Linked DNA regions of Homo sapiens: regions 2, 3, 4, 5 and 6 are each linked to region 1. The links are contacts of gene promoters, found by promoter capture Hi-C in blood cells and fetal thymus (Javierre and others, 2016). All regions are on one chromosome and are shown on one strand. The core of a region is centred on a gene start or on the middle of the fragment in contact, and the rest is flanking DNA. Distances in the headings are between cores, read along the strand shown.

Region 1 (3,832 bases), core at 425-2,924:
CAATATTTTAACGTGATTTTAGGAAAAACTCCATTTCTTACATTAGGAGACATAAATCTCCATAAGACTGGTTTCTATACAACTGCAATAACGTTGTAAATTATCTAAGTTTTGATTTGGGGGAAGAGGAAAAACCCTAAGAACGAAGTACCATGGTTTTCTGTGTTAAATTCTAGAAAGCTATCAAATGTTTAGGATTAAAGCACTACAGTAGACATTTTTTATCACTATGGTTCTAAGACATTAAAATACTTTTAAAATGCTGGTTGAAAATCATATTCTCAAGCACAGAAAAATTAACTGTATTCCAGAGCATTTCCTTGTTTATCTCCTTACCAAGCCTAAAACTCAACTAATCCTTCTTTCAAACAGCTGGCAAACTCCCTTTTCTGAGAGGAGTGACTCATAAGTTATAGGAAATCCACAAAAACTACGATTTTTTCCCCCAACAAACTTAATAACAGGCACAGAAGGGGCGGGGGGGGGGGGGGGCGGAAGGCCAGAAAGAGAACAGACAGAGAAGAGCATTCAGTCTGTTTACTCCAAGGGCGTCACACCGTGCCAATATCCAGAGCTTCCTAAAAGCAAATGTTCAAACTGCAGTTTCTGGACACACTGTCCTAGAAGTTGAACAGATCCTTCAAGCCCATGCACCAAGAAATTCTGAAAATAAATAACTAGGTACTGCAAACCTACTGCACTCCCATCACAGAAATCTTTCAAATTACAAATCCCCTAATTAGGCGCGGAAAAGAACACCGCACTCTTCCCTAAGAAAACCGACACCTCGTTGACCAAAGAGAAAGGAAAGCAAGTTCATCTCCAACATCCAAACCACAAAGCCAGGTTTCTACTAAATAAAGTCCTCAAATACACTCTAATCTGAGATGAGGTAAGGAAGGCTGTGTAATGGTTCTCCTTGCCTGTTGGGAGGGGCAAAGGTTGGCATTCTAGGACAGCAGCTACTCTGCCACATGGGCCTGGTCCTCGGTAATTCCAAGCGTCCCTTCTGCCTCTCCCTTCCCAGAGCAGATGCTTCACCAGCTCCAAAATCCGCCCGACGTTCTTGCCGCCTGGAGGCCCCCACGTTCCCCTCCAGGCTTGGCCTCCCACGCTCGCCCTCGTTCCTGCGACTCTCGGTCCCCGTCGACACCAAAGGAGGAGGCCGCCAAGGCATCCCCGCTGCAAGCCCGCTACCCGCCGACTCACCTGGTCCCCCCTACGTTCAGTTGGACGATCTCGCCGCTGCCGGCCGCCGCCGCGGGGAAGCTGCCGCAGTGCCCTCCCGCCATCTCCGGCGGCTCCGGACGCGCTCGCCGCCCTCCTTCCCCAGCCGGGACCGCCGAGCCCGGGGCTGTAGCCCGAGGCAGCGGCGACGGCTGCAGGGCCAGCGGGGCGGCGGCGGCCGGAGGGCGGGGGGTGCACGGGGCTTCCCCCACCTTCCCGGCGGCCGGGCGGGGCTCGCTAGCTTCTGCCCCTTCCCGGGTCAATCCTGCGGTGCACAAGGGCGGCCCGGCCTCCACCTTTCGCGGCCTCCAGGCCGCCGGGCCGCCCGGGCCTCTTCTCCGTGCTCCGCTGCCACCGACGCCGCCGCAGCCTGCCTGGGAGGAGGGGTCACCGTTCGGGACAAAATACCGCAGCGCTCACGCTTCGCCCGCCACTGCCGCCTAGAATGAGGAGGAGGAGGAGGAAGGAAAGGTCAGGGAGGAGCTTCCCAACGCCGCGGGGCTGGCGCGTAGGGAGGCTAGGGGAATGTGCTCCTGGCCAGCCGCCTGCCCACGCGGGATTCCATTTCGTTCCTCCTCCCCACGCGATCCCAGCCCCTTTCCCTTTTACATTTCAGATTTTCTAAAACGAGGAAGCTGATTCGCAGATTGAGGGCAGATCTGGGCAAACGATCTACGGATCTTTATGACCCACTTTGTCAACATGGATTGGGAAAGGAAAAACTAATCCTAGAGGTAGTAAAAGTTGATGCCTAAATGTAGACAGTGCAAATGCAGGGAACATTTGGAGATTTTAAAACCTTACAGCGTTTACCCCAGAAAACTGCTTACTTTACCCTCTTCAATTTAATCCCCAATCTCCCAAGCAGTTTTTTTGTTTTGTTTTTTGCTTTTGTTTGTTAAGCAGGAAGGAAACCAAAGGACAAAAACCCCTAGACTGTGTAATGCCCAGCAACCTATTTCTGGAATATAGTAAGCACTCAACTAATGTTAGACACACGCAGAAAACACACAATTTTATGCGCTTGTTTATTTATTTGTTTTTGCTTTAAACGGTATCTATTCAAACCCAAAACCTTAGTGGCTATTAAAATATTTTTTAAATCGGAATACTATAATACTTGATGCCCTGCTAACAAAGACTAACAAAGATAGTGCGTTATGTTTCAGAGGTCATTAGTTTGTGGTACTAAATTCTTAACATGAATTGTTTTGTCATAGTTGTATCATAATAATTCAAACTGATAATGTATCTGATGTTAAGTTTTTATTGTCATTGTCATAATTTTTACCAAAAAAATAAAAAATAGCCTCTGGCAAGCATACTAATGTTGTGATATGCTCTATCTAGATTCGACTTGAAAGATGTTAATAGTACATATGGATGTAAGATAAGTATTATTTCTCCCAGTTGATGATAAGCTTAATAATAGCTAATTTGTGTTTATCATATACCCGGTGGTTTAGATATTTTGTCATCTTTCTTCGTCACAACTAATGTTATAATTATTTTTAAAAAAGGAAATTTGGGAATGAAAATGATCAAAAAAACTTGCTCAAAATTACATAGGTAGCAAGTGGGATGGCAGGAATTTCAAGGCAAGCAGCTTGAATTCAAGGCCACTGTTCACCATCCTTACCACTGCATTGTACCTCATTATCTTCACTTTAGACAGGGAAGATGAGTAACAGTTCAGATTAAAGCAGCAGCAACTAGGAATCTAAACCAGGGTGTCCAATCTTTTGGCTTTCCTGGGCCACATTGGAAGATGAATTGTCTTTGGCCACACATAAAATACACTAACACTAACGATAACTGATGAGCTGAAAAAAAGAAAGAAAGAAAGAAAGAAAGTTTATGAATTTGTGTTGGGCCACATTCAAAGCTTTCCTGGGCTGCATGCGACCCATGGGGCTGCAGGTTGGACAAGCTTGCTTTAAACAATGTTAACTGCCTTTGCCCTAACACATAATATCTGGTTCTATCAGGATCTGAAACTTTGCTTTAAAATTTGCAGCGAAGATTTAAGTGGTAAAAGGGCCATTTAATTTTCCTTAGGTCCAAACCTTGGAAGAATATGAAAGAATAGTTGCTAACAGCCTTTGAATCCAAGAGGCAAGTTGGAGTTAGAATAAGGCCTTATAAATTTAAAAATATATATATTTGTGAAAGGCTTCTTATTTTTCCTGAAATAAATGAAACCGTGTTCATTTTATTATACTGTACTTAAAAATTAGGAGAACATCTCTTCAAGAGAAGGAAAAGTTCTCAGTATTTTATAAGACAAATGGTCATGACTTCTTGATATGTCCAGAACAATATAGAGATATCTGAGGCATTTCTTGCTCATAAAACTTAAAGTTAGGGTGTGACTTAATTTTTAAGAATAAATTGGAACACCATTAACAAAAACAAATAGCAGAATGAGAAAAGATATTTGCAACATATATCAAATGATTGAAAATATATAATATCTGATCATATATGTATATATTATTCTACAAATAAATTGAGAAAACAAGTAATGAAAAATATGGAAAGAATATCAACAGCCAATTGATAAAAACACTAAAATGCTTATTAAAACAACAGAAAGCTGGGTGTA
Region 2 (3,832 bases), core at 561-3,060, 1.4 Mb after region 1:
GCCAAGAATGTGCATGAAAGAGAATCAAGGGAGCAACATAGAGGAAAAGGCTCATCCCCAGCCCGTATGCAATGGAGCTACACACTGAAGAATAATTTTGGTGGGGCTAGGAGGAAGGGTTTCGTGTCTGAAGCTGATCTTCTGGCTGTCATGCCTCATCCAAGTCCCACGGAACTGCATTTTCATAGTCCAGTGCCAACTTCCACATTTCCACTGTCTCATCAATGATTGTCAGTCTCATGACTAATGCTTTGGGACTAGATGTCAAAATATTTATTTCTCAAAATCACTTATGATTGTCAAGGGGCCACAGAACCCCTTCAGAATATCCCTGTTACTTATGATTAGGTACAAAGATCCTAGCTTTACTGGGAGTCAGGGACCATGAAGATGTCTCTATTCTATTATTCTCTATTACATTTTCATCCTTTGCTTCCACAGACGAAGGCCAAGTGAGTCTCTCCTGATGATGTTCAACCTTCATTCAACAAGTTGAATAATTACAACAAGCCATAATTACTGTTGTACATGTGTACAACAAGTGCCTATGGAGCACCTGCTAGGGGCCATGTTATGCTGGGTGCACAGGGAAGATGTGGTCCTTGTCCTCTTGCTTACAACCAGGAGGAAAGCCAATTGCACATATGAGCCATTGATATCAGTCAGCCTGGAGAGTTTGATTTTAACTGGATAACTCAATCTAAACATTTTTTTTTAAGTAGAACTCTTTGGGTGATTTCAGACATACAGAGGCTGACTGGCCAAGGAATCTATTCCTCTTTCTAATATTAGAAAGGAATATATTCTTAGGAATCTATTCTTCTATCTAATATTTATTGTCTTTAGGCTCACTTTTGCATTCTTTCGTAAAAGGTGGCCAAGTATCAAGAAAAGGCAACCCTTTCCCACACCTGCAGCTACTAGCTGGTCATCACCCCAAAGAGAAGGCCTCTAGCTGAGAATAAAAGTGGTACATCTTTACAGTCTAACAGATACCCTTCCCTTGTGTCAGAAACCATATCTCAGATTTGTAGGGAGGTGAGACTACATAGCTAGGAGATATTATGGATCCTAGTGAAACATTCTAACCCCAGTAGTAGGGGTAGCACATGACAGTGTTAGGACCTGATGAGACATTATTGTCCCTCTGGAACCTGGGGCTGCTGGAGAAATTGGCCTGTATCCCCCAAGGACACCTTAGCTGTGGAGGTTACATGGGGTTCTCAGCCCAGCCAACAGACACTGTACATGTCAGCAGTGGTGTGATGCCAGCTCTTGGGTGTGGCAGATGGGACAAAGAAAGTGGAGGGTTTTCTCCTCTGTCCAGCTCTCTTAAGTAACTAAACTTTGGCCCCCAATTCCCCGACCCCCACTGCTGATTTTCTGTAGCCCATCCAAGCAAATGAGATCAGAGAACCAAACCAGACCAGAAATGTGATATCTTTTTCCTCCCTATTCCTCATCTACCAGAGCTCTATGATTTTCACCAGTCTAGCCAGGAGAGAGAGCTCTGAATGAAGAGTAACTGAGACAATAATATTCAAGTATCCTAGACCATGCTAAATCTCTAGAGCTGGGTAATGTAAGTGTTTGGCTTTCAGCAGAGCAAAGTGGAAAAATGTGAGGCAGACAGAAGGTGTTTGAATCTCCCACTGTTAGCTTGGTAGCCACAGGCAAGTCATTCACCTTTGCATTTGTTTCCTCATTCGAAAAATGGAAATGCTAATATATCCCTTTCAGATCCATTATAAGGATTAAAAATGTATAAAGCATGGAGCATAATACAGCATCTATTATTATTGTGAAGAATATGTTGTCTTGCCCTCAAGAGACTTGTAGTGTAGTTTGGAGAACTAAGACCATCACAATAACAATCACAAGAATGTGGTCTGTAACAAACAAATGCCTGCGCAAGTCAGATAGAAATTGAAAGTAGGGAGAAAATTATCCCACCAATTCCACTACACCTGCTCAGTTTTGTCCAAATACATTTATTAAACATTTACCATGTAGCAGGCTATATTGTCATAGTTGTGTAATTTACAGGTTCAGGAGTAGTGCAATTTACAGGTTCAGAAAGACCTGGCTTTGAATCCTGTCTCTACCATTTACCAGAGGTATGACTTTGGCCATTACTTAAACTCTCTGGCTTTGGCCATTACTTAAACTCTGAGTTTATTACCGAGTGTCCTCATCTGTAGGATAGGGTTGTTAATAGTACCTGGCTCACAGGTTGCTGTGAGTAATAAATGAATTAATGTATATAATATATATTATATATATATACTGTAAGTAGTAAATATATAAGTATATAAGTATATATAATACTGAGTTATAAATGAATTAATATATGTAAAGGAAACAGCAAAGTCCCTGACACATTGTAAGTGCTCAATGAACAGTTGCTGCTATCATCATCGTCATCATCATTATCATCATCACCACCACCACCACCAGCACCACCAGTCCCTATGCTTAATGTCAGGGATTTTAAAAATGAATGATACATTTTCTGCCTTCAAGCACTTCACAGTTCAGTAGGTCCTCGTATTCCATTGAATCCCAGAAGCCTTTGGTAAGTGATCCAGGTGAACATAACCTATTTTTCTAGAACAGAAACAAATTTTGCTTAGGAAATTTGCAATATTTTGACCTAGAGCAGGGCATTGGCTTTTACCCAACGACGTCTGCTTTGGGAATGTGCTTCCCTAGAGCTCCCTGTGAAACTGAGATAGAGATTTGAGTCTTTCCTAGGCCTATTGGTTTTTACAAGAGTGAAATTTATCCTGTTCAGTCCTCATAATTATGCAAGTGAACAGACTTATTTATAGATCAGGAGTCTCAACTTACTGTATCCTTTTATATATATATATATATATTTATGCATAGCTGTGGCTTATATATTCCAGGGTATTCTAGAGTTCCCCAAAAATATGATTGAGCTGCAATTGTACTACATAAGATTAGGAAAGATTGTACTACATTTAATTAGGAAAGTAGCATTTTAGAATTAAAATGCATAAAAGTCATAAAGTGTGCTGCAGAAAAAGGATTTCCTAGTATCTGAACTCAGAATTGAGGATTTCACTCCTGGTTTATGGGGTTAGAGTGGTAGAATCACGAGAGCTTATTAAAGTCATTTAATCTAAGAATATTGAATGGTTACGTGTAACTCTGCTCAGAGGTGGGGGCTAGACCAATTGGTTTTAAAGTTTTTTTTGCTTTGCAGTGTTTAGCTCAGCTGATGGAAAGATGAAAAGAACACAGAACAGTTAAGTGGGAACTCCCACCAATCACAGGCTACATGGAATTCTCATAAGTTTTTCAAAGCTGTCCCCAAACTATCTATAACAAGTTAGCACCACTAAGGAGAAGGACATCTGTGTATTTTTAGACAGAAAAGTGCTGTCTCCTTGTCACTTTGTAGAAAACCCTTTTCTCTCTGCTTCCTCTCATTGGGCCTTCTGATATCTCAGAAGGGAAAGGAGCTACCTGGTAAATAAAGATAAGCTGTGCTTATTAGCAGAGATTTGCAAGGAAAGTGGCTGTTTAAAAAGGGATAAGGAGGTCATTGTGTTCCTCTGGCTCTAAAGCAGGGACTCATTTTCCCCAGCCAGGGCAGAGCAGCCACGAGGAGCTGAGCGAGTTGCTGGCCACCCCAGGGTGACCTATCGTTCACATGGAGGAAGCTGCACTCCCTTCGTCGCAGGAATCCTTAGGCCTTTGAAGCTGCCCGGTTGTCCTGACAGTAGGTGCCTTCCATGAAGGACTGATGCTCTGCCAGGAAAGCAAAACCTAGTGATTTTTAGAGGGCCCTTTGGAATAAAAGACG
Region 3 (3,832 bases), core at 835-3,334, 1.3 Mb after region 1:
AAATGCACCAATCAGCACTCTGTAAAAACGCACCAGTCAGTGCTCTGTGTCTAGCTAAAGGATTGTAAATGCAACAATCAGCACTCTGTGTCTAGCTAAAGGATTGTAAGTATACCAGTCAGCACTCTGTAAAATGGACCAATCAGCTTTCTGTAAAATGGACCGATCAGCAGGATGTGGGCGGGGCCAAATAAGGGAATAAAAGCTGGCCACCCAGGCCAGCAGTGGCAACCCGCTCGGGTCCCCTTCCACACTGTGGAAGCTTTGTTCTTTTGCGCTTCACAATAAATCTTGCTGCTCCTGACTCTGGATGTGCACTACCTTTATGAGCTGTAACACTCACTGCAAGGGTCTGCGGCTTCATTCCTGAAGTCAGCGAGACCATGAACCCACCAGGAGGAACAAACAACTCCGGACGCGCCACCTTTAAGAGCTGTAACACTGACTGCGAAGGTCTGTGGCTTCACCCCTGAAGTCAGCGAGACCATGCACCTACCCCAGGAAGAAACTCCAGACACATCTGAACATCTGAAGGAACAAACTCCGGACACACCATCTTTAAGAACTGTAACACTCATGGCGAGGGTCTGCAGCTTCATTCTTGAAGTCAGCGAGACCAAGAACCCACCGGAAGGAATAAATTCCAGACACAGAATCACAGAAGTGACATGTATGAACAAGCTGTCTAGCAGTGAGTCCAGGCTCAGAACCACTCCACCATGCTGCCTCTCTGTTCAGCCAGAGCTACAGCTTTCCTTAGAGTACTTGGGATGAAGGTGGATGGGCAGGAGTGGGCCCCATCATGAAACCCATGAGCCTAGGAGCTAGACGGCACTGTGTAGGCACGTGAGTCAGAAGAATTTTGGCTGACATGATCCGAGTTTTGCTGTAGAAAGTTCATTTTTTAGCTAAATAGAGAATACACTAGAAGGGGCTGAGGAGACAGAGGGAACTGAGGCGCCTGATGCAATAAAGGGTCCAGAGGAGAGATGTTACTGGAATGAACAAGGGCAGTGACGGTGGCAATGGGAAGGAGGGACATGGATTTGAAGAACTTTTAATTAACAGGACACGGTAATTGGGGCGAGTGAAGAGAAAGGAGAGGGAATATGAACCATAAAAAATATGTCCAAGGACAACTGACATCATCACCTCCATCCAGTCCTTCCAGTTCATTCCCCCCCGCCCCCCACTTGAGCCTTGTGTTTATTCCCCAAACAAGATTTTGTTATTTCTTCATTCGCCATATCTCTTGTCTAATCTTTTATTTCCATTCTTAATGCCACTCAGCCCTTAAGTCTTTATGTCCGGTTTTGTGCAGTAGACTCTCAACAGCAGAGTGAGTTCAAATTTTGAGATATTAGCCTGGGATCATACATTCCAACTCTGTGTTTCCTCTTACCCCTTACCGTTAACTTCCCACTTAGTCAGTGGCATTGACTTAGAGAAGAAATGATATTGCAGAATAGGAGCAAAAAGTCCCCTGAATTTAGATTCAAAAGCCTAGGGTTTTGGATTGCAAAAGCCTAAGGACTTGGGGGACTCAGGGCTCCAGTCCTAGCAAATTCAGGATGATGCAGGAGCCACAACTCCCTCTGCCAGAAAAGATTCTCCAGACCTGTGATAAAGGAGAATTGGAAGGAAAGCCAGAGAGAAGTTGAGGGTATTTCTCTGAGAAAGAGGCATGTGCCATAGTTTCCTTCCAGACTGAACCTTGGATGAGTGAGACAACATAACTAAACCCAACCCCGCCCATGGGTTTGAGGGGATTCAGAACAAGGCTGACCTATGTCCTAGTTTTACATTGACCCCCAGACTCCCTGTGTAATAGAAATTCAGTGTGTGGGAGAAATGACTGAAATACTTCATGGGAAATAGGAGAGTGATTTCCCATGCACCCAAGAGGAGCACTAGAGTAGACAAGTTAGCCATCTGCTGTGATCTGAAATGTTTGTGCCACTCCCGCTCACCCCCTTTTCCCCACCAAATTCATATGTTGAAATCCTAACCTCCAACATGGTGATATTAAGAATCGGGGCCTTTGGGAGATGATTAGACTGTGAGGGCATGGGCCTCATGAATGGGATTAGGGCCCTTATAAAAACGGCCAAGGTGGCCGGGTGCGGTGGCTCACGCCTGTAATCCCAGCACTTTGGGAGGCCGAGACGGGTGGATCACGAGGTCAGGAGTTCAAGACCAGACTGGCCAACATGGTGAAACCCTGTCTCTACTAAAAATACAAAAATTAGCTGGGCGTGGTGGCAGGTGCTTGTAATTCCAGCTATTCAGGAGGCTGAGGCAGGAGAATTACTTGAAGCTGGGAGGCGGAGGTTGCAGTGAGCTGAGATCCCGCCACTGCATTCCAGCCTGCGTGACAGAGCAAGACTCTATCTCAAAAAAAGTAAATAAAATAAAAATTAAAATGGCCAAGGGAGCTTGTTTGGCCTCTCACATTGTGAGGCAGAAAGACAGTATGTATTAGGAATAGGCCCTCACCAGACACTGAATCTGCTGGTGCCTTGATCTCTCTTCCCCAAACTGTGAGAAATAGCTGTGGCATTTTGTTACAGCAACCAGAACAGACCAAGACACCATCCAAGAGCACCATTGTGATGACCCAGAGATCTGTGTGGATTGATGATCAAGGACCAGGTGTTCCAACCCCAGCCAAGCACTCACTGCCTTAGCATCACTGTGCCAGCCAAGTGCAAGAAGCAACCCCAGGAAACTGACCAAGATGACATCTCTACCACCCAGGGAAAATGAACACTCATAATGAAAATTATCACAGTTTCTTAAATACACAAGTTTACAGATGAGCGTCATCATTCAGGTCTCCCTATTCTATATGCCTTTGTTACTGCTGTCAAACACATAGTCTTAAAATAACTACATTAATAGTGACATTTCGTTGAAAAACTCCCAGTTGCCCTTTATTAGATGCCTCATCAAGGCCAAGCTCTCTTTTTGGCTTTGAAAACCCAAACCTTAGCTGTCGTACACATCTTGAGTTCTATCTATGTTGTGAAGCCTTCTCCAAACATTTCTTCCATAACAGTCCCTACTTCCTAAAGTAAGTCTTATCTGTACCTTGTTGGCTTATGATCATCAACCATAAACACACACACACACACACACACACACACACACACACTTTTGTGTAGTCCCATGTAAGTTAAAAGGTCTTCAAAGGGAAATACTGTATATTGTATTTATTTCATAGTCTTCTTAGTGGAGAGCTTGATACTTGCTATGTGTTAAATTTGGAAATATTTTCTGAGTGATTGAGGTACTGAAATTGCTGATCAGGCTTTGATGGGAGGTGACACTGGATTTTAACAAGTATGTTACACGGGGCATGTTTTTGAACTTGTACCTAGACTTTATGACACCATATCCAAAGAATGAATACATAATTCTAGGTAGTGAATCTATGAAGTGTTTAAAGAGATCAGTAGCTTTATTCATCAGAATCTATTCTGAAGTAGTTAAAAAACAATTATGTTAGTAGAAGTGATGAGAGTTTCCTAATCATGGAATTAGTGTTGTCTTCGGGTGCCTATGGATCCAGATGGCCAAAAGGCACCCACGTAATGCTCTGCCATCTCACTGGCAAGCAAAAGTTGTGGACTTGAACAGAAAAAAACCTTTGCTTCCAGGCTGAAGTGCAGCATAGCAAAATTCCCCTAACGCATAATTTACAGTCCTCACACCAGCATCTTAACTGCATTGCAGCATTTTTACTAGAGGCAGTTACCCCAGAAGAAGAAACTCTTATCAGTGGGAGGAGTAAGAAAGCCAGAGAAATCATGCTTAAATTAACTATTTGAAG
Region 4 (3,832 bases), core at 661-3,160, 1.3 Mb after region 1:
ACAGTGATTAATTTCCTTGCTTTTAAAAATCGGAAACCATGAAGATCAACAAGTTAGAAATGTAATTAACAACTCCTGCTAGTTAATGCGTTGCCGCAGGTGCTGTTGGTCTAGATCAAAAGGATTTGATTCTGTAAGCTCCCTACTTTCTGCTACTGAAATGAATGCTTAGTGGGTTTCACCATGAAAGAAAATGATACTGGCATAGAGGGGGTTTGCAATAACAATTACTTTTAACTAATGGTGACAGAAGAAGTGACAAGTATGCTCTGTTGAACAGAGGCAGCCCCAGCCAAATGAAAAAGAGAATGGGAAAAAAGCCCCAGCAGTGCAATATAACTTCACCATAGGTTGAAATAAGACAATCAGAAACAAAGTTAGCCTCCCACCCAGCGAGGGTGGTTATACTAGCAAGGCCTCCAATCTTGTTTAAGAGAAATAAAAATTGGAGGAATTGTGGCAGAACCCTATTATAACCCTGGTCAGGGGACAAGGATAATACTCAGGCTACAGGTTTTTCTGTAATACTGAAAGGTGCTCCATACATCACTTTAATCCACAATGTAACAGTGAACGGGACCCACGTGCAGCGGGGGGCTTCTTCCCAGGGCTGTGCTGAACCTTCGCTCAGCACCAGGCTTTGTTCTGAGGCTTGTTAAAAGTTAGAGCCCGCATCCTCTTGGGGAGGCAGGAAATATTTAGGGCAGTAAGGTAGCAACTAATAGGTTTTCCCAACTATTGGAACCGGAGCTGTAATTTACAAGGAGGAAGCTGGGCTTGGTGGTCAGAGTAATGGCTGACCTAGTTATAAAATAACACAGATTTGTTTTCATGCAGGCTCTGGCCCAGACAAAATTTACCTTTGCCTTAGAAAGCAAAAAAAATTCATGAAGCTTATGAATATAGGAGAGAAATATTTAGCCTGTGAAACAGTGAACATTACATTTCCTTTTCAGCCCCTGGACAACACCTATATCCGAAGCTCCTCTTGTAGGCCCTGCACAATCTCTAACAGTTAAAGCTCGTCCAAAGAATGAATGTACACACTTTTAAAATCTCATGTTTTCCTCTGGAAATGCTCTGTCTTAACTTTTGTGCAAGGTCAGAGTAACACTTCCTTGCTACTTTTATCTTTACTTCTCTAATGCCCTCTGATTGAAAAGTCAAAAGCAAAGAAACAACGAATGCCTTTCTAACTCAGTTCTCTCATAAAGGAACTGACAATAAAATAATATCCACCGCTTCTTCCAGTTAAATGACAGATGTTACTATTAGTACTTTGTAATGAATACCAATATTATTAGATTCCCCTATGCTTGCTGTTGCATAAAACTCACGTGATTAAAAATCAAAGAAAATGACAAAACCAAAGTAATATAAATTTAACTACTTGAAAACTTAAAATACTCCTAACAGTATTCCTCACTTCAACGTTCTGTCCGTAAAACAGAAATAAACCATGGTAAAAATTCCTTTATAGTCTAATGCTAATTGTGAGTTCCCAGAACATGGTCAGGTCTGCTGCAGCAAAACATGTGTTAACTACCTGTCCAGACAGAACTGTTCTGAATCTTACTTACAGGAAAATGTGTGTTTTTTGTTTGTTTGTTTGAGAGAGGGTCTTGCTCTGTCACCTAGGCTGGAGTGCGGTGGCACAATCTTGGATCACTACAACCTCTGCCTCCCGGGTTCAAGAGATTCTCCTGCCTCAGCCTCCAAGCAGCTGGGATTAATTACAGACATGAACCACCACGCCCAGCTAATTTTTGTATTTTTAGTAGAGACGGGGTTTCACCATGTTGGCCAGGCTGGGCTTGAACTCCTGTCCTCAAGCCATCCGCCCGTCTTGGCCTCCCAAAGTGTTGGGAATATAGGCGTAAGCCACCGCGCCTGGCCTGGAAAATGTTATCTTTTTAATTGCCTACAGAAGAATTTTAAGAGTTGAGATTCTCTCATCCCCTCAGTTTTATTTTCCTGCAAACAAAATATAAAAAATTGAATTACCAATTTGTTTAGGCGAATTACCCCGAATTGTGGACTTTACCTTGAAAACTTAAACTGATCGGATACCGTTTGAACAGATTTAGCAGACATTTTTCTTTCAATCCTTATTGATTCCATTTGTATTTCTCTGAACGGAGAACATTTTTAATACTGTAAAACCTTGCACATGAGGCAGTAAGAAGACATGTTAATCTATCATAGCTAAGTAATTTCTATTCAAAAGTGTTATTTGCTAGGTACAAAAGTACTGTGCTACAGCCATACTGGGAAATAATATTTTTGTTAAAAAAAAAAAAATGAGTGGCTGGGCACGGTGGCTCATGCCTGTAATCCCAGCACTTTGGGAGGCCGAGGCAGGCGGATCACCTAAGGTCAGGAGTTCAAAACCAGCCAGACCAACATGGAGAAACCCCGTCACTAGTAAAAATACAAAATTAACTGGGCGTGGTGGCGGGTGCCTGTAATCCTAGCTACTCGGGAGGCGGAGGCAGGAGAAATGCTTGAACCTGGGAGGCGGAGGTTGCAGTGAGCCGAGATCGCGCCATTGCACTCCAGCCTGGGCAACAAGAGCAAAACTCCATCTCAAAAAAAGAGTTATTTGGGGAAATCTGCCCTGCCTACATGAGAGTGGTAAATATAAATATCAGGCAAAATGATTCAGCATCCAAATGGCCCACACGACCTGGAACTGAGAGCAGAAAGCTACCCCTAGGACTGAGCTCTTTGAAGATACAGAAGTTAGGGAAATAGCACTTACTGAGCATGTTGTCTTATTCATCTCTGAAACTCCACAGTGAGAGCACAATGCTTGGAATAGTAGGATGTTCAAAAAATGTAAATATTAAATTATTGTAAAATAAATACAAACAAGTCGATAAATAAAATGAAAGCTGTGTGGGCTGAAGTAGTTAAGAAAAAGCTTTGGACCGGGTGCGGTGGCTCATGCCTATCATCCCAGCACTTTGAGAGGCCAAGGTGGGTAGATCACCTGAGGTCGGGAGTTCGAGACCAGCCTGGCCAACATGGTGAAACCCCATCTCTATGAAAAAATATAAAAATTAGCCAGACGTGGTGGCAAGCGACTGTAATCCCAGCTACTCAGGAGACTGAAGCGGGAGAATCGCTTGGACCTGGGAGGCGGAGGTTGCAATGAGCAGAGATCGTGCTATTGCACTCCAGCCTGGGTGACAGAGAGAGACTCTGTCTCAAACACACACACACACACACACACACACACACACACACACACACACACACACACACACAAACAGAAAAAGATAAAGCTTTGGAAAGAGATGCAATTTGAGCTGGATCTTTCTTGAGTATAAACAAACTGAAGGCTCTAAGGCCTTACCTAGGAAGGAGGCAGAGGATAAGGAAGGAAATATTACAGAGAAAAGTACTCTAGATGACAAATAGACAATAGGAAGAATGAAGAATGACATTCTTCAGCTTTGCAAAGACCACCCAAATTGAACTTGGAGTCTAAGTCAAAATGCAGTGAGGGATAATGCTGGATACGATGGGAGGGGCACTTAGTAGGGAACTTGTCCTGAAGAAAGCAGGGAGTCAATGAAGAGTTCTGAGAGTATTTACAAGGATTCATTTCCAAGAATGAACAGTTGCATATTAAGAGAGGTGATGAGGCCTATGCAAAGGGCCACTAGTAAGATAAGATGCAGAAATGAGACTAATATATTTCGCAAATATTTATTGCAGTAACAGAGGCTAGTCTTCTTGCTAAACGCTGGGGTTACAAAGATGAGTAAGACCTAGTTCATGCATTCAAGGAGCAAGTGTGATAAAGGAAGTTTGTATGAGGTGCTGT
Region 5 (3,832 bases), core at 788-3,287, 1.3 Mb after region 1:
CTTTCTGCTGCTTCTTAGTACTTCTCACCACCTGAGCATATTATATATTTATTAGTTGTTTGGTTTAGTATCTGTCTCTCCCCAGGAAAATAAAGAAATTTTGTTTTGTTCATAGCTGTAACCCCAGAACTGACAACAGTGCCTGGCATTTAGTAGGCACTCAATATAGTTGTTGAAGGAATGAAGATATCTCCCTACCCGCTTCCCTCCACACTGATCCCCCAAGAAGGAAGCACATAATGTCACTTAATGATTTAATGCAGTCTATGGTGCAGCCCCTTAGCTCAAGTTCTGGGCCAAGATGTTCTGCAGAGTTAAATAATGCCGCGCCAAATATAACTAAGAGCAGGGAGGAAAAGAAATGACAAGATATGCACAAGGGAGAAGAGAATCTGTTTTTAGCCAAAGCCTAAAATGAGAGCATGGTGATGAGGCGAAGAGGTGGGAACAGGTGGGTCTGTCTCCCTGCAGACTAATCAGCTCCCTCCTCAGCTGCAGAGCAAAGAGGAAAAGACAGAGATGACCCTCGGGATACCTGAGAGGATATGGGGACCTACCAGCTGGGGACAGATGGATCATTAACAACTATAGACAAATGCCCACTCTGACTCCAGCAACTCCAAGAAAACTCCAAGACATAATCTCTGTCCCTAACGGGCCTGCAAGCTGTTGTTTTCTGAACTGCAGGTGGTGCCTTGGTGTTTAGCAACTACAATGAATTCCTGGGAAGTTAAATATGAACATTTATTAATATAATTATTATTTATAAAATATCAATTTATTAATGTAGTTGATTTAAAATTAATGGTACTGTAAATACTACATAATGGTGACATTTATTGATATAAATGTCCTCAAAAGGAAGGGAATCAAACACAAGGAAAGCTCTGGGAGGAAAGCAGAGTGCTGTCAAGCAGGAGGGCTGCTGACCTGGGACTCAAGAAACCTGCATTTTATCCCCACTCGCAGCGAAGCAGCTGTGTGACAACGCAGGTTTCTTAATCCCTTTGCGCCTGTCTCCCTGGCTGTAAATAACATGATCCCTAAGTTACTTAGCAAGTCCAGAATTCTGAGTCTGTGAGTTTACACCTTCCAACAGTGATAATCAGATATCAAGCTTGAAGACTACCAACAAAAGTGGACCAAATAGGGATCATCAGGCATTCATCAGGCACAAAGGATCCCATCAGCAGATCCACAAGAAGCACTCAGAACGGTGCCCGGCACAGGCTGCGCTCTGAAACATTGGTAATTGCTCATTCATTCATTCATTCATTCAACAAGTGCTGCAACTGACCCTAGAGGCAGGGATGGGAGATGAAGTCTTTGACTTCAAGCAGTTTATGGCAATGTCAGAACCAAGATAAAAGTACACCTACAATTAAATACAGTCCCGCTCATAGCAGTTAAAATCAGGTAGCTGGATAAATTCAAGAAAATGCAGAATCAGGTTAAATTTCATCAAAGGAAATTTACCACAGTAATAACGTTTCACTTTCTTTTTTGAAGGTGGATTAACGGAGGAAGGGCAGAGATATAACACAATGGCACTGCACAGCTTTAATTCTTAAAAAAGGAAGATGTGATAGTATCTAGTAAAAATGTCAGGTTTTAAGCATATTTTGATACATTCTCTTCTATCATAGAGATGGTCCATATATTTTAAAGAACCTGACAGCGGCAACTACCCTAGTTTTGCCCATAAGAAATTACAAGCAACCAGACTGGACAAAATTGAAAAACAAATTAGGCTAACCTGATGAATAGGAATGAATGTTATAAATTACCGTATTTTTGAATACTGGCAGTACTGCTGTATACAGAGTGATTTTGCAACTCTTTATGCTTTTTTAAATGTTATCAATTTTTCTAAAACTTTTCCCACTATTCTTCAAAATTCGAGTTAGTGCTCCTGCCCTGACTGCAATACTTATAAAATTTTCTGTAAACTAGGATCTCATTTTCCAAAAAAAAAAAAAAAAAATTAATAAAATACACATATAAGCACAGAAGGGATTCAGGAAGATATATACCAAAGTATTCTCTCAAGGAACAAGATTATGAATACTTGTTCTGTTCTTTTAGTCTGCACTTTCTGATTTTCCCATAATGAGGACAGACTGTGTAACTTAAATCCATAAAAAAGGTGAGATATGGAATTTTTCATACTGATGGTCCTCTTTTAAAACTTCTAATTCATTTTCAACTAAGATAATAACTACTGTGCATGACTTTCACTTTCGTGCACAGTCAAAAATGCTTAAAGATGCATAAAGAGTTGCGAAATTGTCTCATGGTGCACCAGCATTTCCAGCACTGGAAGAAAAGAGTGATTATTATGGCATCCAGTTTTCTGCTGAGCAAATATGTTGCCTTCCTCGATAAGGAGACTGGATTTTCATCATGAAGTCCCTTTTCTGCCTCTAGCATTTGGTGTTTCTATTCTTCTAACAACAAACACAGCCTACCTGTACACATCCACATCTTATTTCTTAAAATGTGGAACAGGGAGAAAATGTCACAGGATTTCTGCTTTCCACTAGCATGATCCTTGAGAAGAAGTGTGCAAAAGCAATCAGGTGGACACCTGACCACCTTATACAAAGATGGCCCGTGCTGCTGAGCTACCATCACTAGGACATATGCTTTGTGTTTTCCCAATACAAGCAATGAGACATACTCAGTCATTCACACACATTTCTTCCTACTGGTGATGTTAAAGATTTAGAAAAAAAGAGTGGCCCAAATTTAAGATGCTTCCTATGGCTGACAGGAGTGAACTGAACCAGGATTGAACCTACGACTCTGGCCCCATTACACTAATCACCCATAACAGCAGCATTTATTAGACATGTTCTATACTTCAGTTATTTTCTAGTCAATGATAAGGGCCTACTATTTTCTCACATGCTCCTCATACACACTTTAAAAAATCCCTTCCTACTTTCAAAGCTTACTCATAACCCCCTCAGCAGCAAAACACAAAGGTTTTCTTCTTTACATTCATTAGAGTTAAGAAATATACCCTAGAAAGTCCTACTGCACAATGATTATTCTATATAACAACTTTCTAAAACTCTTCTCTTGAAAATATCCTGGTACAATTTATGGGTGAGTGGGTGAATGAGTAATATACTTTGCTTCCCAGGCGTATTTAGAAAAATAAATACAGTTCATTAAAACACACAGGTTACAAAATAACGCACCCAACTAAAAAGGAATTTCTGTTTCTTTTGTATTTCCTCCCATTACCCTTTCATGCATTAGCAATTAAAATCTTTCCTCTGGCACCATCACACTGAGTCAAGTGAACTAAGAGGAAAGTAACGGGACAAGATAGAACCAAATTGTATCAAATAAAGCAAAATCCGAAAGCACTGCAGACAGAAGAGGGCTTGGGGAGAACATACACCATGGCTAGGATCCCCTAAGAAGCCTTACTCCATGTAAAGAGGAAATCCCCAGGAAGCAATGTGAGCCTTTAGCACTCTTGGAGAGGTGTCTGGCCAAGGCAACAATGGACGCAGCTCTCCCCTTTCACATCCACTGAAGGCCACTTCTCTTTCTCTGACATTCCCACAGAACCTCCTTTCCTAGAGGGCCCTCACTTCTCCCAAGCACACTACTGTAAAGGGGTGAAAGCCCTCCCCAAGTAGTGTGTAAAGTCTCATCTCTGTTCTGCCACTGTTTGACCTTGGGTGATCTTGGGTCACCCAACCACTTGGGACTACGTTTTCTTATCTACTGACATATTGAACTCGATAACCTCCATCCCAACTCCACCATCTGCTGTGTGGCACTGACCACCTGATGACTCCAGGGGGGTAGGGCC
Region 6 (3,832 bases), core at 697-3,196, 1.2 Mb after region 1:
AGGAGCAGGTCTGAACAGAGACCTGGTCTAACTAGATTCCCTTTGGCTGTCTTTGTAAGGAGGGTTTAAAGGGTCAAAAAGATCCTAGAGGAGATCCGCCAAGTCAGACAAGCTCTTCAGCAGAGAGGTCCTGAGATCAGAGTGCAGTCAGCGCTCTTGCCCAATGAACAACCTTACCTTGTCCTTGGTGGTACACTCCTGGCACTCACAGGTAAAGAAATAAGAATCTCTTAACCGGTCATTTCTATCTTCCGTTGGGTACAGGAGATCAATATAGCTGGTAAAAACCTACGGGGTCCAAAAAGATAAAGCTTCAGTCTGCTACAGGTAAACTCAATCCTTGTCATTCCCGTGCCTTTGCAGTCACCTGCAGGGCCCATGCAGAGGATAAGGCGGGCTGCAGCGGAGGAATGCGCTGTTTACTTTAAGGCACGGAATTCCTGAACTGAGCAGCCACCTGACGTTGGCTTTCTCTGGAAGGTGTTCACTAATCCACAGCTGAACTGGGAGCTGAAGCCAAGGTGCAGGTTAGTGGAAAGAGTCTGTAGAATCAAGGAGTCCTTAAAACAGTGTCCTGGAGGGTTCAGAGGATCCCTGCCTCCCTCAGCTGCCTCTGCCTGGCCTTCATGTAGTTTCATGTTTCACCACCTGAGACGGCGCAAATGCTTCGTTGCCGTCATCACTGGATGCTGCGTGCAGGGGAGGGCATGAGCACGCACACACCACACACATGCAGCTAAGCTCCCCTTCTCCTCACATCAACTGGCAATGGAGCAAGAGGCTCCACTCAGTGGGCTGGGACCCACAGCTCTGGGTGGCCAGCGGAGGGTGAACACATCTTCTAGGACACCAGAATGCTGCGGCCTGGCCCAGCGGGCAGCTCCTGATCCTGCAGGGCAGCGAGCTTGGAAAGTCCTTACCTTTGGTTCATGGGGCTCCACCGTCCTTGCCTTTTCCTAATGGGGTCTGTAACTAAGGCTTGGAGCATATGGAGGAGACCAGCATTTAGATGTCCATTATCTACTCACTGGGACAGCACTGGCTACTCATCCCACACAATCAGGCAAATGTCTGACTGAACAGATGGATCTCATGAAGCCGCTAGCGTGCCAGTGACCACGGGCACCACCAGGCAGGCAGGGGAGGACACGCACAGGGCTGGGTGCTGCAGGGGCAGCTAAGCTCTCCCCAGCCCATGGGGAGGTACTGGACACGTTGCAGCTCACCCCGAAACCCTGGGGAATGGGGTTTCTCCTTCTCTGAAGGGTAAGTAATCCCCAAAGCACTGACTTCCCAAAAATGAGGTTACTGCGTTTCAGATCTGGGAGAACATAAGGGCAAAAGGAAACTGCAGCCACCCCTGCCCTGCCTCACACCACAAGAGCCTGCCAACAATCTCTGTAATGACTGACTCACAGTGCAACATGCGGAAGCTTCCAGAAGATGGCGACAAAGGCCACTCCAGTACCACTGCTCCCAGCCAGACTGAGCCAGCTTAGGTGACAACCTGCTCATCTCTGCAGTCAGCCCACAGGTGCACTGGAGCCTGGGTGACTGCATTCTGACTGGCTGCAATTATCTGTTTCAAGAAAGGCTTCAGAGCAGTCTCCATAAGACCTTTGGAAACTCAGACACCCCAGCCGAAAGGGGACACACCCTCATCGTAATGGATTTAGCTGAAGGTAGAAGGGCCAACCTGCCTGCATCTTGGGCTTCAGCTCCCAGTGCAGCTGTGGATTAGTGAGTGCCTTCCAGAGAAAGCAAAGCACTTGTCATTCAGCACGCTGACAGTTATATTTTACACTTCACACTTCAAATACCCAGGCATGCACCGTAAAATAGCATTACAAATTGCTAAACTGAAATTAACCCAAGTGTGATTACAAGTTCCTAAAAACTCATGTGTCTTGCTGGGAATTTACTTAAGAACACAGAGCATACTACAGCAATCCATCAGGCCAGCCCTTCCCAGGTGAGACGTCTCATGAGGTAGTCAGGAATCACACATGGGAAGGGAACAGGGAATCGCTGAGCAGGTGATGGGAAGACTGGTTCTCTCCACGTCCTGAAGCTGAGGAGGGAAACTAAGGTGCCCCTTGGCCACAGACTGCCTTGACTTCTCCTATTACTGCATATACCTGGACTTTTGATTTAGATTCCTAAAAAGTGAACTGCGACCTGAAGTTCAGATGTGGAACTGATAGAACACGAAATTCTGATGTGTCCCTTGGAGTGCCAGCTCTTTAGCTACTGCTGCGTTGCTTGCTTTCTTTTGCTTTGGACCTTTGAGGGATGGTGGGGAACAAGCAAGAATTCACCAAAAAAAATAAAATAAAATAAGGCTCAAGCTCAGTTGTTTGGCAATAGGGATACAGAGACTCTAAAGATAATCAAAAGTTTGACTGTGGTCATTTTGGTAGTAAATGTCTTCTTTCTCTGTAAATCTCTATAAAGCTTTGGGACAAATTTGACTCAAATTTATTACTTCCTGTTTTTCTTGACCAGAGATGGAAATGTATGTACCAAACAGAAGCCCCAAAGTGTGGGAATCTAAACTACAGGTTACAAATCTGATCACTGACTCCTGGAGAGCCTGAGGGCAGACTCAGCTAAACTGCTGGAGGCATTCACAACTCATACTGTCAAGTGACACTGCACAGATCTGTCCACATTGCCTTTTAAAGAGCAGTCTCAAGCCCCCTGCTGCAGCCACCCATAGCCATGAACTCACCTCCTCTCCCGGCTTGATTTCCTGTACAGCTCTGACTTCTGCCAGGGTCCCTTTGTAGGTCACAATGACATTGGGGCAACAGCTATGATTCATCAATGCAACACTGTCAGTCAGAAGAGAAAACCCAGTTTTTAAAATGAGATAGGCAGACTGTTTAGCTTCCTTCACTACTTACTTGCTAAGTCAGAGGAACTGAATCTTTGCAAGACATTTTTTAAAAATCTAATAGTTGGCTATCACATTCTAAGAGGTTGTTCTGCATGCACTGATAATCCTATCTACCATCTCACACTTTCACCATATTAAAAACTGAAATCCACAATTCAAGTACTATCTAAGCCAAAACCAAAAAACACACAACAGCAAAAACAACAAATGCCACAAATATTCCTCCCTGATAGAATGCAGCTCTCAGAACCCAATACCCACAGCTAATTGCTACTTCACTATACACTGTCAAACACAGGTGCGTTGTCGCTTTCAAGCAGCTTTTTGTATTAGTGGATTATTTCTCACGTTTTTTTCAGATGTTGAGAAATGCCAGCTTCCTAAGGGAGGAAGGGTGTGTGATCCCCTGAGAGACCCGGAGACACCCGTCTGAGTTTCTCTGCACCTCAATTTCCTCATCTGGAAAATTGGGACATTACTGCTCCTGCTGCTCACTGTCTGCTTTTCAGGGACAGCGAGAAGGAGAGAGAGAGATTCGCCTATGCGAGGTGCTTTGAGCTTTCTGATTATATGAAGGTCAAAGTTCTGAGAACAGAAATTTCTAAACTACAGGGAAAAAGTGCTTGATCTCTGAAAATGCTGCCTTTGAAATCACAATGCTGATATGATTTCAGCCCAAAGGGATTTTTTCCCCCAATTAAAACTGCCCAGAAACTGGGGCTCATGCTCCTACGGGCACTCACAGCCATGTGTGTCATTGCTCTGGTGGCCAATGTCACCTCCCTGACCCTCCAGAGACCACAGCCCCTCTCCTGCTTGCTCCGAGAATACAAAAAGGGAAAGGGGTTTCGAAGCCTGATGAGGATGAACTGCCCCAGGCTGGCTATGGCCTATGGCCAAGTGCACTCCCCCACCTCCTGGCTGCTAAAGGCC

The links. The method cuts DNA at HindIII sites, captures the fragments that hold promoters and counts their contacts. A CHiCAGO score of 5 or more calls a contact.
Region 2: a contact is called between a fragment that was not itself captured here and the fragment with the promoter of KCTD3 in region 1, in 1 of 17 cell types (M2 macrophages). The highest score is 5.4, in M2 macrophages.
Region 3: a contact is called between a fragment that was not itself captured here and the fragment with the promoter of KCTD3 in region 1, in 1 of 17 cell types (M2 macrophages). The highest score is 5.2, in M2 macrophages.
Region 4: a contact is called between a fragment that was not itself captured here and the fragment with the promoter of KCTD3 in region 1, in 1 of 17 cell types (M2 macrophages). The highest score is 7.0, in M2 macrophages.
Region 5: a contact is called between a fragment that was not itself captured here and the fragment with the promoter of KCTD3 in region 1, in 1 of 17 cell types (M0 macrophages). The highest score is 5.4, in M0 macrophages.
Region 6: a fragment that was not itself captured here is called in contact with the fragment with the promoter of KCTD3 in region 1 in 2 of 17 cell types (M2 macrophages and M1 macrophages); the score reaches 6.1 in M2 macrophages.

The regions. Positions count from the first base shown.
Region 1 is chr1:215,565,146-215,568,977 of GRCh38, reverse strand. It overlaps KCTD3 (potassium channel tetramerization domain containing 3), which reads right to left and starts at 1,674. Exons shown (of 18, transcript NM_016121.5): 1 at 1,210-1,674. The coding sequence starts at 1,292. It overlaps LOC124904599 (a long non-coding RNA gene), which reads left to right and starts at 1,621. Exons shown (of 2, transcript XR_922599.2): 1 at 1,621-1,698; 2 at 1,844-2,551. RefSeq lists an enhancer at 600-1,460 and a silencer at 1,273-1,542. The HindIII fragment of the contact is 6,743 bases long and covers 1-2,650 here.
Region 2 is chr1:214,209,286-214,213,117 of GRCh38, reverse strand. No RefSeq gene overlaps it. Among named protein-coding and RNA genes, the nearest start is that of SMYD2, 70 kb to the left of the region's middle. The HindIII fragment of the contact is 6,664 bases long and covers 1-3,832 here.
Region 3 is chr1:214,272,074-214,275,905 of GRCh38, reverse strand. All of the region lies in intron 1 of LOC124904509 (a long non-coding RNA gene), which reads left to right. Among named protein-coding and RNA genes, the nearest start is that of SMYD2, 7.2 kb to the left of the region's middle. The HindIII fragment of the contact is 3,639 bases long and covers 265-3,832 here.
Region 4 is chr1:214,292,450-214,296,281 of GRCh38, reverse strand. The region is part of intron 1 of SMYD2 (SET and MYND domain containing 2); the gene reads right to left. Among named protein-coding and RNA genes, the nearest start is that of SMYD2, 13 kb to the right of the region's middle. The HindIII fragment of the contact is 2,030 bases long and covers 896-2,925 here.
Region 5 is chr1:214,308,656-214,312,487 of GRCh38, reverse strand. The region is part of intron 2 of SMYD2 (SET and MYND domain containing 2); the gene reads right to left. Among named protein-coding and RNA genes, the nearest start is that of SMYD2, 29 kb to the right of the region's middle. The HindIII fragment of the contact is 1,835 bases long and covers 1,120-2,954 here.
Region 6 is chr1:214,326,624-214,330,455 of GRCh38, reverse strand. SMYD2 (SET and MYND domain containing 2) reads right to left here. Exons shown (of 12, transcript NM_020197.3): 7 at 2,732-2,834; 8 at 178-288. Among named protein-coding and RNA genes, the nearest start is that of SMYD2, 47 kb to the right of the region's middle. RefSeq lists an enhancer at 1,300-1,389 and a silencer at 1,316-1,610. The HindIII fragment of the contact is 1,021 bases long and covers 1,436-2,456 here.